5 separate regions of the Homo sapiens genome follow, and all the other regions are linked to region 3. The links are contacts of gene promoters, found by promoter capture Hi-C in blood cells and fetal thymus (Javierre and others, 2016). All regions are on one chromosome and are shown on one strand. Each heading gives the region's core, a stretch centred on a gene start or on the middle of the fragment in contact. The rest is flanking DNA. Distances are from core to core; before and after follow the strand shown. Region 1 holds the start of C1orf74 (chromosome 1 open reading frame 74). Region 2 overlaps HSD11B1 (hydroxysteroid 11-beta dehydrogenase 1). Region 3 holds the start of CAMK1G (calcium/calmodulin dependent protein kinase IG). Region 4 holds the start of IRF6 (interferon regulatory factor 6). Region 5 overlaps TRAF3IP3 (TRAF3 interacting protein 3).

The links. Contacts are between HindIII fragments. The CHiCAGO score rates a contact against its expected background, and 5 or more counts as called.
Region 1: a contact is called between the fragment with the promoter of C1orf74 here and the fragment with the promoter of CAMK1G in region 3, in 8 of 17 cell types (neutrophils, non-activated CD4 T cells, total CD4 T cells and 5 more). The highest score is 11.9, in neutrophils.
Region 2: a contact is called between a fragment that was not itself captured here and the fragment with the promoter of CAMK1G in region 3, in 2 of 17 cell types (neutrophils and monocytes). The highest score is 13.4, in neutrophils.
Region 4: the fragment with the promoter of IRF6 here is called in contact with the fragment with the promoter of CAMK1G in region 3 in 5 of 17 cell types (neutrophils, naive CD4 T cells, non-activated CD4 T cells and 2 more); the score reaches 10.1 in neutrophils.
Region 5: a contact is called between a fragment that was not itself captured here and the fragment with the promoter of CAMK1G in region 3, in 1 of 17 cell types (neutrophils). The highest score is 7.6, in neutrophils.

The regions. Positions count from the first base shown.
Region 1 is chr1:209,783,256-209,785,955 of GRCh38, forward strand. It overlaps C1orf74 (chromosome 1 open reading frame 74), which reads right to left and starts at 1,304. Exons shown (of 2, transcript NM_152485.4): 1 at 1,123-1,304; 2 at 1-454. The coding sequence starts at 379. It overlaps IRF6 (interferon regulatory factor 6), which reads right to left. Exons shown (of 9, transcript NM_006147.4): 9 at 2,362-2,700. RefSeq lists enhancers at 1,009-1,626, 1,183-1,442, 1,627-2,242. The HindIII fragment of the contact is 4,418 bases long and covers 1-2,700 here.
Region 2 is chr1:209,726,888-209,729,589 of GRCh38, forward strand. The region is part of intron 4 of HSD11B1 (hydroxysteroid 11-beta dehydrogenase 1); the gene reads left to right. The region is part of intron 1 of HSD11B1-AS1 (HSD11B1 antisense RNA 1); the gene reads right to left. Among named protein-coding and RNA genes, the nearest start is that of HSD11B1-AS1, 14 kb to the right of the region's middle. The HindIII fragment of the contact is 5,210 bases long and covers 1-2,702 here.
Region 3 is chr1:209,582,371-209,585,088 of GRCh38, forward strand. It overlaps CAMK1G (calcium/calmodulin dependent protein kinase IG), which reads left to right and starts at 1,344. Exons shown (of 13, transcript NM_020439.3): 1 at 1,344-1,402. The region is part of intron 1 of LOC107985256 (a long non-coding RNA gene); the gene reads right to left. The HindIII fragment of the contact is 1,486 bases long and covers 971-2,456 here.
Region 4 is chr1:209,804,716-209,807,415 of GRCh38, forward strand. It overlaps IRF6 (interferon regulatory factor 6), which reads right to left and starts at 1,427. Exons shown (of 9, transcript NM_006147.4): 1 at 1,232-1,427. RefSeq lists a silencer at 1,349-1,692. The HindIII fragment of the contact is 4,987 bases long and covers 1-2,510 here.
Region 5 is chr1:209,766,860-209,769,559 of GRCh38, forward strand. The region is part of intron 8 of TRAF3IP3 (TRAF3 interacting protein 3); the gene reads left to right. Among named protein-coding and RNA genes, the nearest start is that of TRAF3IP3, 12 kb to the left of the region's middle. RefSeq lists enhancers at 2,537-2,586, 2,597-2,700. The HindIII fragment of the contact is 594 bases long and covers 955-1,548 here.

The DNA of each region.
Region 1 (2,700 bases), core at 54-2,553, 200 kb after region 3:
AGACAGAAGGGTGACGCTGGCAGCTGGAAACATCCACAAAGGCTATGGTACCAAGCAGCACCTGCTCCAAGTGCTGACATACATGCTCAGGACTGACAATCAGGCTGTTTTCTCCAATCTCAAGGATGTGAAGTCCAAAAGTCAGGAAGCCAAGCCCCTTCAGCTCCTCCAGATAGCTCTGGAGCTCTGATGCCCCTGCACAGTTGCAATCATAGAGCACAGCTGGCTTCAGTCCCCGGGCCACAGCCAGCACCTCTCCAGCTAAGTGAAGGCAGATGGCTTGGGGTGGACTCCGTCTCTTTCCCATGCCAAGGGTCTGCTGAGCAGCTGCCACCAGCAGCTGAGGGCTCGGTGATGACATGAGATCTAGAAGCAACATCAAGAATGGCCTCCTTAGCTAGCCCGAGTTCCCTTCCCTGGGTGGCATCTTTCAGCCAGACACTTGAGGAGGGGCCTAGAAACAAAGCAGGAGCAGGGAATTATTAACAGCCTTCCTGTTAAATCGCGGTATCTTCCAAAGGTTATTCTGTCCCTCCCTGCTTTGAAATGGCGACCCAGCCCAGACAAGATAGTTTCACCGATGCTGCTTGATTTTTCTGGTTGACTTGGTCTCCCTCAATCATAAATTCGTGTGTTTTTCTAGCCTTATAGCTAGATTTATATTCCCTCTGGCTTTTATTCTAAATTTCACCTGTTGCAAATTACGTTCTCTGGTTCAAACCGTAGGGAATTTGGGGCAGAGGCGGAGGCGGGGCAGTGTTTGGCAAAATTCACAGCATTTCGCCCAAAAGCCCTTCTGGGACAGAGCTCCAAGTTCCAAATGTATCCTTTCCACTGACAACTCCCCTACTCTTCCCGCCAGAGAATAGTTATAAGAATAGTAATTTGATTAATATACACCAGAATGTGGACTAACAACCATCTCACCCTGACACATAAAAATGAATGAATGAAATCCACTAGAACTGCAGAAGGGTAGTATTTTAACTTCTGCTGGCCCCGCCTTCCCTTTCTGTCCGACATCAAGGACCCTCGGAAGATGAGATTTCTCCGATCCACACACCCCACACCAGAGCATGTTATAGTGATTTGCTAAATGAGGCATAAGTCTGTCTCACATACGTTCTTTTTCCACGTCCGCTACAGGTTCGGGGGCTCAGAAACTTTTTGCGGCTTCCTGCCTGCTGCCAGAAAGGCAGCTAGTCCCCCACGCCCAGCCGCAAGTAACACTGGAAAACCCGCCTGCGCTGGGAAGACCCTCGCAGCCCGCTCTGCTCCAGTCCCGCAGGCACCTTCTTGCGCATGCGCACCCACTCGAGTGCCGCCCTCTTTCCCCCCATTCCGTGACGTCATCCAGCCGCTCGCGCGCCTCGCGTTAGAATCACTAGCTAGGCAGCCTTACTGCGCGCCGGAAGTTTGGGCCACCGTGCGGCCCGCCCTTTCCGGCCAGACTGAACGCGGCCCCATCTGTCGGCTTAGGAACTGGGAAGGGCGGAAGTAAACGAGAAAAGGCGGAACCTGGTGAAACTGGTTTCCCGCTGCTGCCCTCATTTTGCTTCGCCGAACGTCCTCCCTGTGTTATGACGTCTGGTGTCCCACTTGACTGGGAATCCAGAAACAGGGCACACAGCAGTTAATAAACACCTTTGATTTGTGTCTGTGGAAATACGTTTTGTCCAGACGAAACATACCTCAAGACAACATATTTTGCAGAATAGCCTCACCTGTGGGTGGTGCTGAAACGTTTTAATTTTTTTTAACTTGACTTCCCTAAATCCTACATTTGAGAGGCCTACAACAGCTCTCTAGGGAGGGTGTGAAGGTGTGAGTATTCACTTTGAACAAATATGTGCCAGTCATGCTGCTAGGCCCTGGAGGTACTGCAGTGAGCAAAACAGACAAAACCCCCACTTTCATGGGGCTTAAGTTCATGTCTACTGAATCCAGTTTGCTGATTTCAAATAAGAAATGAGAAGTGATGACACAGAGGCTTTCCAGTCAGGTCATTACAAAGAAAAAGTGTTATTTCACGTAAGAGTTAACACCTTTTTAACTACCAGCGATTTGACCCATGCCACGAAGGGAAAGGATTTCTTGAGAAAACCCCAATATCTAAGGAAATGGCCCCAATTTATTTATACTTGGAGCAGGACAGAGATTAAGGGAACAGTGGACACCTACACTGGAGTTGTCACTCCTGGATCTATCTTGGTGGTGCCTTCAGTCCATGAAAAGTGAATTGTACAGTAAAGATGGGGTCAGCATGGGAGGAGGACCAGCTTATAGGAGTTACCAGCCTAAGGCTGTCTGGTTCTTAGCTCAGAGGGAATCAGAAGCTGAGAGTAGAAAGTAGTCTTCTAATTTTAGAACGTTTTCCTTCCCCGCATTTATTTAATTTTCCCATGGTGGTTAACAGTAAATCCCTAAAAGACTGATTTAGTTCATTCATTTATTCCAGCAACAAATATTTGAGAACACACTGTGTCCCAGACACTGTTCTAAGGACTGGCAGCGAAGTCCAAGACAAACAGTCCCTACCTTCAGCAAGTTTGCAGTCAAGCAGGATGCGGATGCTGAGCATTACAAGGGAAATGATTATTCTGAGAGAGGAAGTATGGGGTGCTATGGGAACATACAACCAGGGACCTAATTTTATGGGAAAGGGACCAGCCCAGATCCAACACTTGCTCTCCCAGTTTA
Region 2 (2,702 bases), core at 120-2,619, 140 kb after region 3:
TCTGTTGCCACCTAGACAAACACATTAAATGTCATAGTCAATATCTTTATTGTCATCTAGGGGTGTGTAGTGGGCTGAATGGTGGTCCTCCCCCAAAAGATATATCCACCTAGATCCTGTGAACGTGACCTTAAGTGGACACATAGAAAGTCCTTGAGGATGTAACTAAGATCTCAAGATGAAATCATTCCCGATTATCTGAGAGGCCCTGAATCCAATGACAAGTAACCTTATATGAAGAGTAAAAGACACAGACAGAAGAGAAGAAAGTGATGTGAAGATGGAGGCAGAGACTGGAGTTGCCAGCACAACTCAGCTCCAACTGCCAGCAGACATTAGAAGCTAGAAGAGAAAAAAGAAGGATTCCCTGCTATAGGTTTTGGGGGGAGCATGGCTGTGCTGATAACTTGGTTTTGGACTTCTGGATTCCAGTTCTGTAAGAGAACACATTTCTGTAGTCTTACGCTACCAAGTTTGTGGTAATTTGTTATGGCAGCCCAGGGAAATGAATACAAAGGGACTAGGAGTGACTAGCCCTGTTTATTTATGGGTATCCTCATCTGTCAGCTTAGAAGTGAAAATAATACTGCTATTCATAAATTTTGCCTATTTTGGACTCGACTATCAAAAGAGAGAGAATCCTCACCAATGCAGAAAGAACTGGATTTAACACATGGCTCCTGGAAAACACTCATATAAAGAACAGTGCCTTCTGTAGAGGAAGTACCACCTAGTGTTCAAGAGTGTGGGCCACTAGAGTCAAATTTGAATCCTGGTTTGAATCCTGCTTCTCCCACTCATTAACCTTGAAACTTTGAGCATTTATCCTTTAGATTCTACACTGGCACATAAGAGCTAAATAAATGTTAGTTCCTATTTAGCTCAATTTCAGAGGTTATTGTGTTTGCTCCATATGCTTGCTTATTTTTGCAGAATACTTGTCTCCGCTTACTTATCCCTCTCCATGGCTGAAATGGCTACCCCAGTCCCAACCTTACATGACCTTTTCATTCAAAATCCAACAGCAGCAATCAGAATCTTTTGGTCACTTATTTCAATTTATTGAAAGAGAGACCACGATGTGTGTTCAAGCCAGTGTGCATATTCGTGATAACTGGGCCAACCTTCCATGGCTAGAAAGATAAAGGCTCTTTGAAGGGGATGAGGGCAGGAAGTCCATGGCAAGCATTTCTAGTACACTGTAGCTTTTCACATTTTATATATTCCAACCTATTTATGTCTTCCTTCATAGTATATGCCTCCAATTTCATGCTTTAAAAAGTATCTCTAACTTTGAGATTAGAAATTCACCAATAGCTTATTTTAGTTTTTTACTTTCCACATATACTCTGTGATCTAATTTGAATTTGTTTATTAGAATGGCACTTTTTTCTCCAAGTAACTAGCTATTTGTCCCAACATGATTTTTTGAATAGCTCATACTTTTCTCACCAATTTGAATACTAATACTGCTAACAATAATAGCATTTTCTGAATGCTTTCTATGTGCCAGAGTTTGTGCTAAGTATATTACATGGGTTACTTCAGCTTGGTTATATTATTATCCACATATTACAGCTAAGAATTGGCATACTTGGGATTCACACCTGGGTCATCTGACTCTAGAGCTCATACTTTTAATTATTATGCTATTCTGATAAGTAATGTGGATCTATTTTTGTCTCAAACAATAAGGAAAATTATTGACATAACTGGAAGTCCAGATGTAGGGCAGGCTTCACAGTTGACTTGGCTGAAGCTCAGTGTCCCCGTGATTCTCTTGGCTCTGCTCTCTTCCATGTGTGGCTTCATCCTCAGGCTGACAATGAGATAGCTGCAGCAATTCCAGCCCCCATATCAATGCACAAAAAATGTGTTGGAAGAAAAAGAGGATTGCTACTCTCAGAAACTCTTCCAGAAAAACAATAACTTTTTGAGACACTCCAACAAAATTTTCTTCAAATCTCATTGGTCCAAAATGAGCCACATGGCCATTCCTGTATCAATCATGAGTAAGAAGAATGGGATAAAATAGATTACATAAGCTCATACCTGCAGTTAGGAATGATGTCAGCTTTCTTTTGGCACATGGGCTGCATAGAAGTGAGGATAACTATCAATAAGAAGTAAGTCCAGCTCTCAGATACAGAAAACCTAAAATAATAGTGGATTCAATAAGTTAGCATTTAGGCCAGGCATAGTGGCTCATGCCTGTAATCCCAATACTTTGGGAGGCCGAGGCAGGTGGATCACTTGAGATCAGGAGTTCAAGACCAGCCTGGCCAACATGGTGAAACCCTGTTTCTACTAAAAATACAAAAATTAGCCAGGTTTGGTAGCTCAAACCTGTAATCCCAGCTACTCGGGAGGTTGAGGCAGAAGAATCACTAGAACTTGGGAGGCAAAAGTTGCAGTGAGCCGAGATCATGCCATTGCACTCCAGCCTGGGCAACAGAGCAAGACTCTGCCTCGGAAAACACACACACACACACACACACACACACACAAGTAAGTTAAAATTTAAATCAGGTCTGAAGGTAGGCAGTATAGGGCCAGTATAGTATGGCAGCTCCATGGTCACCCAGGTTCCTTCCTTCTATCTAAACTATCTAAATGTTTTGCCATCCTCAACACGTGGCTTCTACCTCATGGTCCAAGATAGGTCTGGAGCCATAGCCATTACATCCACCTTCAGACACCAA
Region 3 (2,718 bases), core at 94-2,593:
TAAAGAAATACCATAATAAAAGTGGTCACCTATAGAGGGCAATGTCAGGGTCAAGGGACAGATAACGAGTAGAAGGGGGTAACACATCTCAATGTATGCCTTTTAATATGGTCATTTTCTTGCCAATATGAATATGTTATTTATTCAAAAAACAAGATGACACAAAAGAAATGGTACAAGTTAAAAGCTAATTTCAAGGAACAAATGGAAGTGCATAAGAGCTGGATGGGTTTGGAAGACAAATTAAACAGGCAACACAAACAAAGCAAACCCTGGAGTTTCTCAGTTGAGTGTTTGGAAGATGGTAGCTCATTAGCCTAGTTGGGGAAAACAGGAGAGTGGGTTTGAGGGTGGCCATAACACATTCAGCCTTGTTTGTAGGTGACAGTGGGCATTTGGATGTTGAGGTTGAGCATGATAACCCAGGTGGGGTGTTGACTGAGGAGATTCTTATGAAGATGGTAATAGACTCTGTGAGTAGATGGTAACCTTAAGGAGAGAGTAGAGAAGGAGAAAACAAGAGAGCAGATGACAGAGTTTAAAGAAATCTGCACTAAAGGGACTGCCCCAGAGAAGCTAAGATGGAGACTGTGAAGCCTTGGTCAAGGGCCAGGTTGGAGAGATGAGTACAGGAAACAGAGGGAGCACAGAGTTTCCGGAGGAGGGGAATGATTTCCTGGGGTCTCATAGGTTAGGACTGAGACAGGTTTGGGGACCAGAATGCTGAGCTTCTGGAGGAAAAGAGACATATCAAAGATACTGAGTGAGACCGTCCAACTGAGGGGCCCCTTTTGGGACATCCAAGGCCCTTTCTCCCAGTTCTGTAAGAGATAACAAGCAAGGTGGACACTGTCTTCAGTCCCTACATGTCAGCCAGTGTAGATGTTCTGTTTTTCAGGGAGGTGTTTTTAGACAACATACACCAGCACCTGAGGGGTTAAAAAGGAAACTGAGGCAGACAATCCTAGAAAGCTTCTCTGATTTTTTTCTGTCATCACCCATTCAGGATAATGGGAACTTATAATTTGATGTTTTTGTTTTTCATTCTTCCGTTCTGTCTTTCCATCACACACATCAATGCAAACACAATTTCACATACACATGCACACAGACTCACACACACACACACCAGGCAAAAATGCACAAGCATTTTTCTGGATAAGACTCATTACTGCACGCTGGGAGGGAGGGTGAGCAGAGCCGAGGAAAGGAAAGAGAGATGCAAGCCACCCTAGCTACTTTTACTCCCCTTTAAGGCTGCGTGGTTACGGTCCTGGGAAAGAAAACTCCTGCATTCCTCCCCTTTAATTGGGTTTATTGTTAAAGCACTGGAGCAGCTAATCCTCACAGACCTGTAGGAGCTGGAGTGGGAGCTCAAGCAGGATTCTTCCCGAGTCCCTGGGTAAGACAACCCTGCTTCTTTTCTTGGCTTTAGAGGGTCTCCTTGCTTAATGGGAAGCGTGCAGCACCTAGTGAGTGGATTTGAAGAGCCACTTTGTAAGCAACTTGGGCATTTATTTCAGCCCCAGTTCCAGTCTTCCCTGACTCTTTTGGCATCAAGGGTGAGTTATAGCTGTCTTGGAAAATAAGTCTGAATGGGGGGTCCGGGTGGAGCTATCTGTCCGTCACTCCTGGGCTGGCTTTCATGGAAGCATTTTGCCCTTCTGGGCAGGGAAAAGGGAGAAAAATATCTTCATGTGCCCCTCCTGCAATGCCTGCATTCTAGGGACAAGGCTCTGTGCCTAGAGGGACCCCGTCCATCTGCTGGGGTGTTAGGACCTCCAACTCTCTTGCACCCCTCCCTCCTGCTCAACCTTCATCTCTTAACCTCTCTGACCCCATCCATCAAATAAAGTATGCCCTCTCTGCCGACCTCTTTGGGTTATTGGGAGGATTAGCAGAACCAATGGCAAAAAGATTTGTAAACAGCCTGTGGCTCTGCAAGCCTAAGGAAGACGAGTCAGCCTCAGTCCCTCCTGGAGGAGTCTGTGGACAGGCTTCAGGCTCCCTATCCTCAGCCGCGTTAAGATGCAGAACGCAGCCGAGCTATCGCTGTCAGTCACAAGACAGCTTCCTTCACCTTCCCCAGGGGCGCGTCTACCTCCCTTCTGTTTTTAAACTTCCCTAGTTTACCTCTCAAGTGAAGATCTTAAAAGGAGGTCTGGATTCACCACCACCACCACCCCCATCCACACCATGGCCCCTTCTCTCCACGTAACTTTGACGCACAAACATTAACCCTGAGGCTCCCGGAGATGGCTGCCAGGGCTCACGCTGGTCTGGCTGCAGTGCTTGTCTGGCCAGCCTCTTGCTCTGGAGTCAGATAAATTGATCATGAGGAAAGCCTCTGAGAAGGGTCAAGAGAGTCAAGCAGATTCCGCCTTAGGTAAGAAGATGATCTTTTCCAGATCATAAGCTGAAGACAGAACAAGGTCCCTGTCATTCCTGCTGACCCAAGCTTAACCAGAACCAAAGATGAGACCCACCTCTGAAACAGGCCGTAACACAGAGTGCTTAGTAATACCTGATATGGGGACCACACTTTACAGTTTATAATGTGTTTATAATTAATCATCTTTAGGACGATCCCATCAGATGGTGTGGCATGTATTATTTCCCCTTTAGTATAGATGAGACCATTGAAGCTTAGAAGTTAAAGGGTTTGCCTGGGGTTGCAAAGCTGGTGATGGTGGTGGCAACTGAACCCAGATCTATTGA
Region 4 (2,700 bases), core at 177-2,676, 220 kb after region 3:
GTCCTCTCCCATACCCCTATTCTAGGGAGCAGGTCCTCCATAAACACCCTCATTGCCACCTCCATAGCTCCTCCCCAGACTAGTTTCCAGGGGCACTGCCACACAAAAGCCGAGATTTGGCCGTCAGTGGTTTTGCTCAGGTTAAAACACACGCCATTTCTCGCAGACAATTCTTAGCAGTCCCAGCTCTTCCCTTTCTCCTGAAAGAAATGAAATGCCATCGTCTAAGTTCCGTTCCTCAGGCTTCCCTGTTTAGCCCTGCTTAGGGGTAAACTGCAGGCCTCTAGTCAAAATGCCCACACCCTTCCCTTCTGCTGGATGGAAGCTGGGGGATGGCGAATGGGAGTTACAAGGTATTGAGTGCCACTGTCATACATCATACACACGTCTCATCCTAAACCACACTCCTGGGTCAACACCAGCTTTCACCAATCCCACCCAAGCGCCTTCCTCTCTCTATCCATCTCTTTTCCCTGACTTCCACTCTTGACATCCACCAAGAGAACAGGTTGGAACAGGATGACCCCTTTACCACAAAGCAGGCTCCCTGTAAAGAGTGACACCTCAGGCCTCCTTTCCAAGTCAGGCCTGGGAGACTTTCCCCATTCTCCACACCACCCTCCAGCCCCTTCGGGCAAAGAGGGCCCACCCCCAGAGCAACCACACCCCAGCGCCACCCTCCCCAGCACCTAGCTCCGCTCCTTGGAAATCCAAGGTTGTCTCCCAGGCCCAGGGCGAAGGGCCTAACTGTGCCAAACAGACTCAGGGAGGGAAGACAAACCGCCAATGCTCCAAAGCTCCTGGCCACCCTCACTCCAGTTTCCCAAAACGCCCACTAGGATCAAGGACCTGCGGACCTGGGAAGTCCCCTCTCTGGGACACAGGGGCCAGCCGCAAGTTGGTAAGACTGAAGGGGGCGCGGTGCTTTAGCTCTACCGGATAGTGGGGTTGTTGACGGCCGAGAGCAGTGCCCTCCGCTTCGGCGGTGGGGGTAGGGAGAGTAGACACAAGTGTAGATTCGAGAGGGGCCTAGCGCTACAGAACTGAGGCCGCCCCAAAGCTATCTGGAAAAGGGCGACAGGCACCCAGCCCCAGTGGGTACCCACCCCAAACACACAGATGCCCCCAAGCAAGTTCTCTCACCCCCTACAAACTCCGGGGATGGGTCCTACCCCACCCACGGGGGAGCCTCTCCTCCCTCAAGCTGGTCCCCAGAAGTTGGCGTACCCACCTTTGCTCAATCTGTCCACCAGAAGCGGACGTCCCTCCGAACCAAGTCCGCAGCGAAGATCACCCGTCGCTACCACGCTCCTCGACGTCTTAGCCAAGGGGCGCCTGGCTCTACCCAAGTAGGGACTGCAGGTTCCTCTCCCCGTCCCGCACCAGCCCTTACCTGCCCAGCCCAGGTGCGCCGAGCTCACGTCAGCGCCTCGCCCCAGGACGCCGCAGCCTTCGCATCCGCCCGGCCACGCCTCCCAGGTGTGGCCACGCCCCCCGGCGTTCGGGATTGGCGAGTTGCAAGAAATATGACACTCCGCGTTTCTGGGCTGCCCGGCCCAGCGGCGTCCGTCCAGCGTCCCACCCTACTCCTCCGCTTCTAACTCCGGCTAAGAAAGTCCCAGATTCAGGCCTAGCCTTACGGCTCAGGGCTGGTGGTCCTGGGAACTGGAAGCGACTGGGAGTTCAGATCTAAGTCGAGAGGGTGCCTCCCTCCTTCACGGCCCATAATTACCCTGCAGTATGCAGACAGTTAAGCACAAATAAGGGTTTTGAGATTCTGGGTTGGCCCTACTACTCGTGGGCCTGTGTAAGTGGAGTTGCACATGAAGAAGAGAACCAGGACACTTGGTCCTGTCTGGGAGAAGCCATAGGCTTTCAGGACTAGAATTCTACCTTTACTCTGCCTCTTACCCGTGTGACCCTGGGTAAGTTACTTAGCTTCTTGGCTTCTTGGTTTCAGTTTCCTCATCTCTTCAATGAGAATAATAATTCCTTCCTTCTTTTTTGTTGTTGTTTGCTTTTTTCTCTTTCTTTTTTCTTCCTTTTTTTTTTTTTTTTTTTTTGGAGATGGGGTCTTGCTATTAAGTTACACAGTCTGGTCTGCAACACCTGGGCTCAAGGGATCCGCCTCAGCCTCGCAAAGTGCTGGGATTACAGGCACTGGCACCCAGTTCAATTCCTTTTTTTTTTTTTTTTTTTTTTTTTAGGCAGGGTCTGGCTCTGTCATCCAGGCTAGAATGCAGTGGCACAATCATAGCTCAACCTCCTGGGCTCAAGCAATTATCCCACCTCACCCTCCCAAGTAACTGGAAATATAGGCATGGGTCACCATGCCCGGCTAATTTTTTTTTTTTTTTTTTAGAGACAGGGTCTGACTATGTTGCCCAGACTGGAGTTCCTGCTTCCTCTGATCACTATCGTGTAATGAGTAAAAGCATAGCCTCTGGAGCCAACTATTGGGGTTTAGACCCCAACTCCATCAGTTACTACAGACTTGGGAAAGTTTCTTAAGCTTTTTAGGCCCTGGTGTCTTATCTGTAGAAAGAGGTTAGTAATAGTACCTACCTCAGGGGTATTGTGGGAATTCAATAACTACATGTAAACTGCTTGCAACAATATTTAGCACTTATCAAGTGCTTTATATGTACTTGCAATTATTATTGGCATAAAGATTAAAAATACCATATAGACAGTGCGTCA
Region 5 (2,700 bases), core at 2-2,501, 180 kb after region 3:
TCTCAAAAAATAAAAATAAAGGAAAGAAACCATTTTAGCTGAATCTTGAAGGATGAGTAGGAGCTAACCAGTAGAGAAGCAAGAGTGATGATGAGGGAAAAAAGCAGAAAGTAGAAGAGTGTTTAAGGTAAAGGAATTGGAATGATTACAGGCCTATGTATGGCAAAGAATTGGGTATAGCAGAGTATGGCTGAAATGAAGGTATGCCAGAGTAGTACCAAAGAAAGGATCTCAGACAGGTCTTTAGAATTATGGGTCTTAAACTTTTTCTGTTGAACAAGGTATCTCAAACTTGAATAATGCATGGACCCATTTTTAAAGGAAACCCATATATGTATATATATAAAATCAGAGATCCTTTAGAATGCATGCTACCCAGCTTGAGAAACACTGCTATAGGTAATAAGCTGAGTAAGAATGGAACTATGCTTTATTGAGGTATAAAGTCCTACACTTAGCAATGTCTGGCTCATCCTTAGAAGGTATGCAATTACTATCTGAGGAAATGACTTGTGAATGATCAGATCTGTGTCTTAAAAAGTTCTGTAATTTCCAACTGGATGCAGTGTCTCACACCTGTAATCCCAACACTTTGGGGGGCCAAGGCAGAAGGATCACTTGAGTGATCAAGACCAGCCTGGGCAACATAGTGAGACCTCATCTCTATTAAAAATAAAAAAATTAGCCATGCATGGTGGTACACACCTATAGTCACAGCTACTTGGGAGGCTGAGGCAGGAGGATCGCTTGAGCCCAGGAGGTCCAGGCTGCACCACTGTACTCCTGCATGGGGTAACAGAGCAAGACCCTGTCTTGAAAAAAAAAAAAGAGGGGGGAGGGTTCAAGGATTATCTAACTTGTAGCAATAAGAACCCTGGCTCCAAGCAGGGGTTGGGGGAGTTGAGACTCTTGTAATATCCCAGGTAAGACACAACCAGAGCTTGAATCAAAGCAAGCTTTGTGGGAATGAGGGGGGATATATTAAGAGACATTTCTGGGTTTGTCTCCAAGGAGGAGTTTCACCCCATGCTCCAGCCCAAGAGCAGAAGTTCCCTTGGTTGTGGTTTCCTCCCTCCCTTCTTCTCACCCCTCCCAATCCTCACCCTTCTCTTCTTTGTCCCTCCTCCCCACCAACCCCCTAGCTTCCAGTTTTAAAGAAAAACAGTCTCAGACTTTTTCAGTTAACAGCTATTGTTTCCCCTAAAATAAGGTAATTCAACTCTCTATCTCTTCCATGAAAGCCTCAACTCCAATAAAAGTATAGCCCCAAACTGTGGTATCTGGGAAAAATAATTGGAAGAAAGTGGCCAGAACTGGTTCAGACCTTTATTTTTGCCATTTGACCTTCATAAATTTGAATTTCCAACTTCACATGCTGAGAACTTACCACAAACTCCCTATTAGAATCCCAAGGATCAGCTCCCTCCGCTGGCTTCACCTCCGGATGTCTCTGGGCCTTTTGGATACCATAGGCTCTGGGGCACTATTGAGACTCCTGAGGAGGGTCCAACCTTCAGGGCAGAAACAGCTCTACTAGCAGAGAAAGCAAGCTTTCAATATTGTGCAATACAAAAACGAGAGCAGGGCAGCCTTGGGTTTGAAGATCTGCGTCCTGGAATTAAGATCTTGAGATGACAGCGCAGCGGGGATTGGCTGAAGCCCTAAGCAACCTCTACTAGAGCAGAGAGATGAGCTGTGGGCTGGTGCTTCTGTGGTGAGGTGGTGGTGTTTCTGGAGAGCAGATCAGAGGCAGGGGAAAACCACGCAGAAGCAGGAGCTGAAGACCTCAGACCGGCACCAGGTGTGTATGGCCTCCGCCTTGCTCCTCTCTTCACTGGGGTTTATATGCCCTCTGAGCCCTCGGCTCCCGGGGTCTAACTGCCTAGAATGTCAGCAGTAGGCCTGTAAAAAGTGCTTCTTCCCACATACTGTAACACTGGGCTTCAGTGTGGGGGACCCTGGGGCTCAGACCAGGAAACTACATGCCCGATTTGCAACAACTTGGCTGCGACTTTTATGACGTTTTGGGGAGTCCAGAAAAGCAGAGCTGTGGAAAGAGGTTTCATTCAAGCTCCAGACTTGGGTGGCCCTTCATCCCCACTGAAGTGGCTATGGTAAATTGTCTTCCGTTGCAACACGAATGGAAAAGTAATTTGGGGTTGGGCCAATACAAAAACAGTTGAAAGAGGCAAAATATTGGATTAAAGCCATACTATGGAATGGGGAGAGAGGAGGTACCCCAAAAGGGTAGGAGACTGGGAAAATTTTAAGAATATTGCCTTAGGCCTGCTATATTCCCAAAATACAGCAAGATAAACCTTAAATTTGGTAGGTTTGATTGCATTCTGCATAGAAAGAGTTTGGGCAAAGGCAAATGTGTGGAACCGAAGATGTGAACCAGAGGAGGTAGGTGTAGAGCCAGTTGATTTCAGGACCTGTGGATTGACAATGAACAGGCCACAGTGGAATGCAGCCGTTTTACCAGTTACTTCAAAGCTCAAACAGTAGAAGTCTTTGTCCACGTCTTCCATCGGTCCCAAAGCCCTCTGCTTATTGTAGATGCCAAATCCCTGACTCTCTGCTCTCCCTCACATGAGACGTTAGGAAAAACATTAATAGCAGGAGGCACTTTAAAAAATTATTTTTGGCAACACTTTTTGCTTTTGCAAGCCCCAGCTGAGTAACACAGGAAGCTGAAAG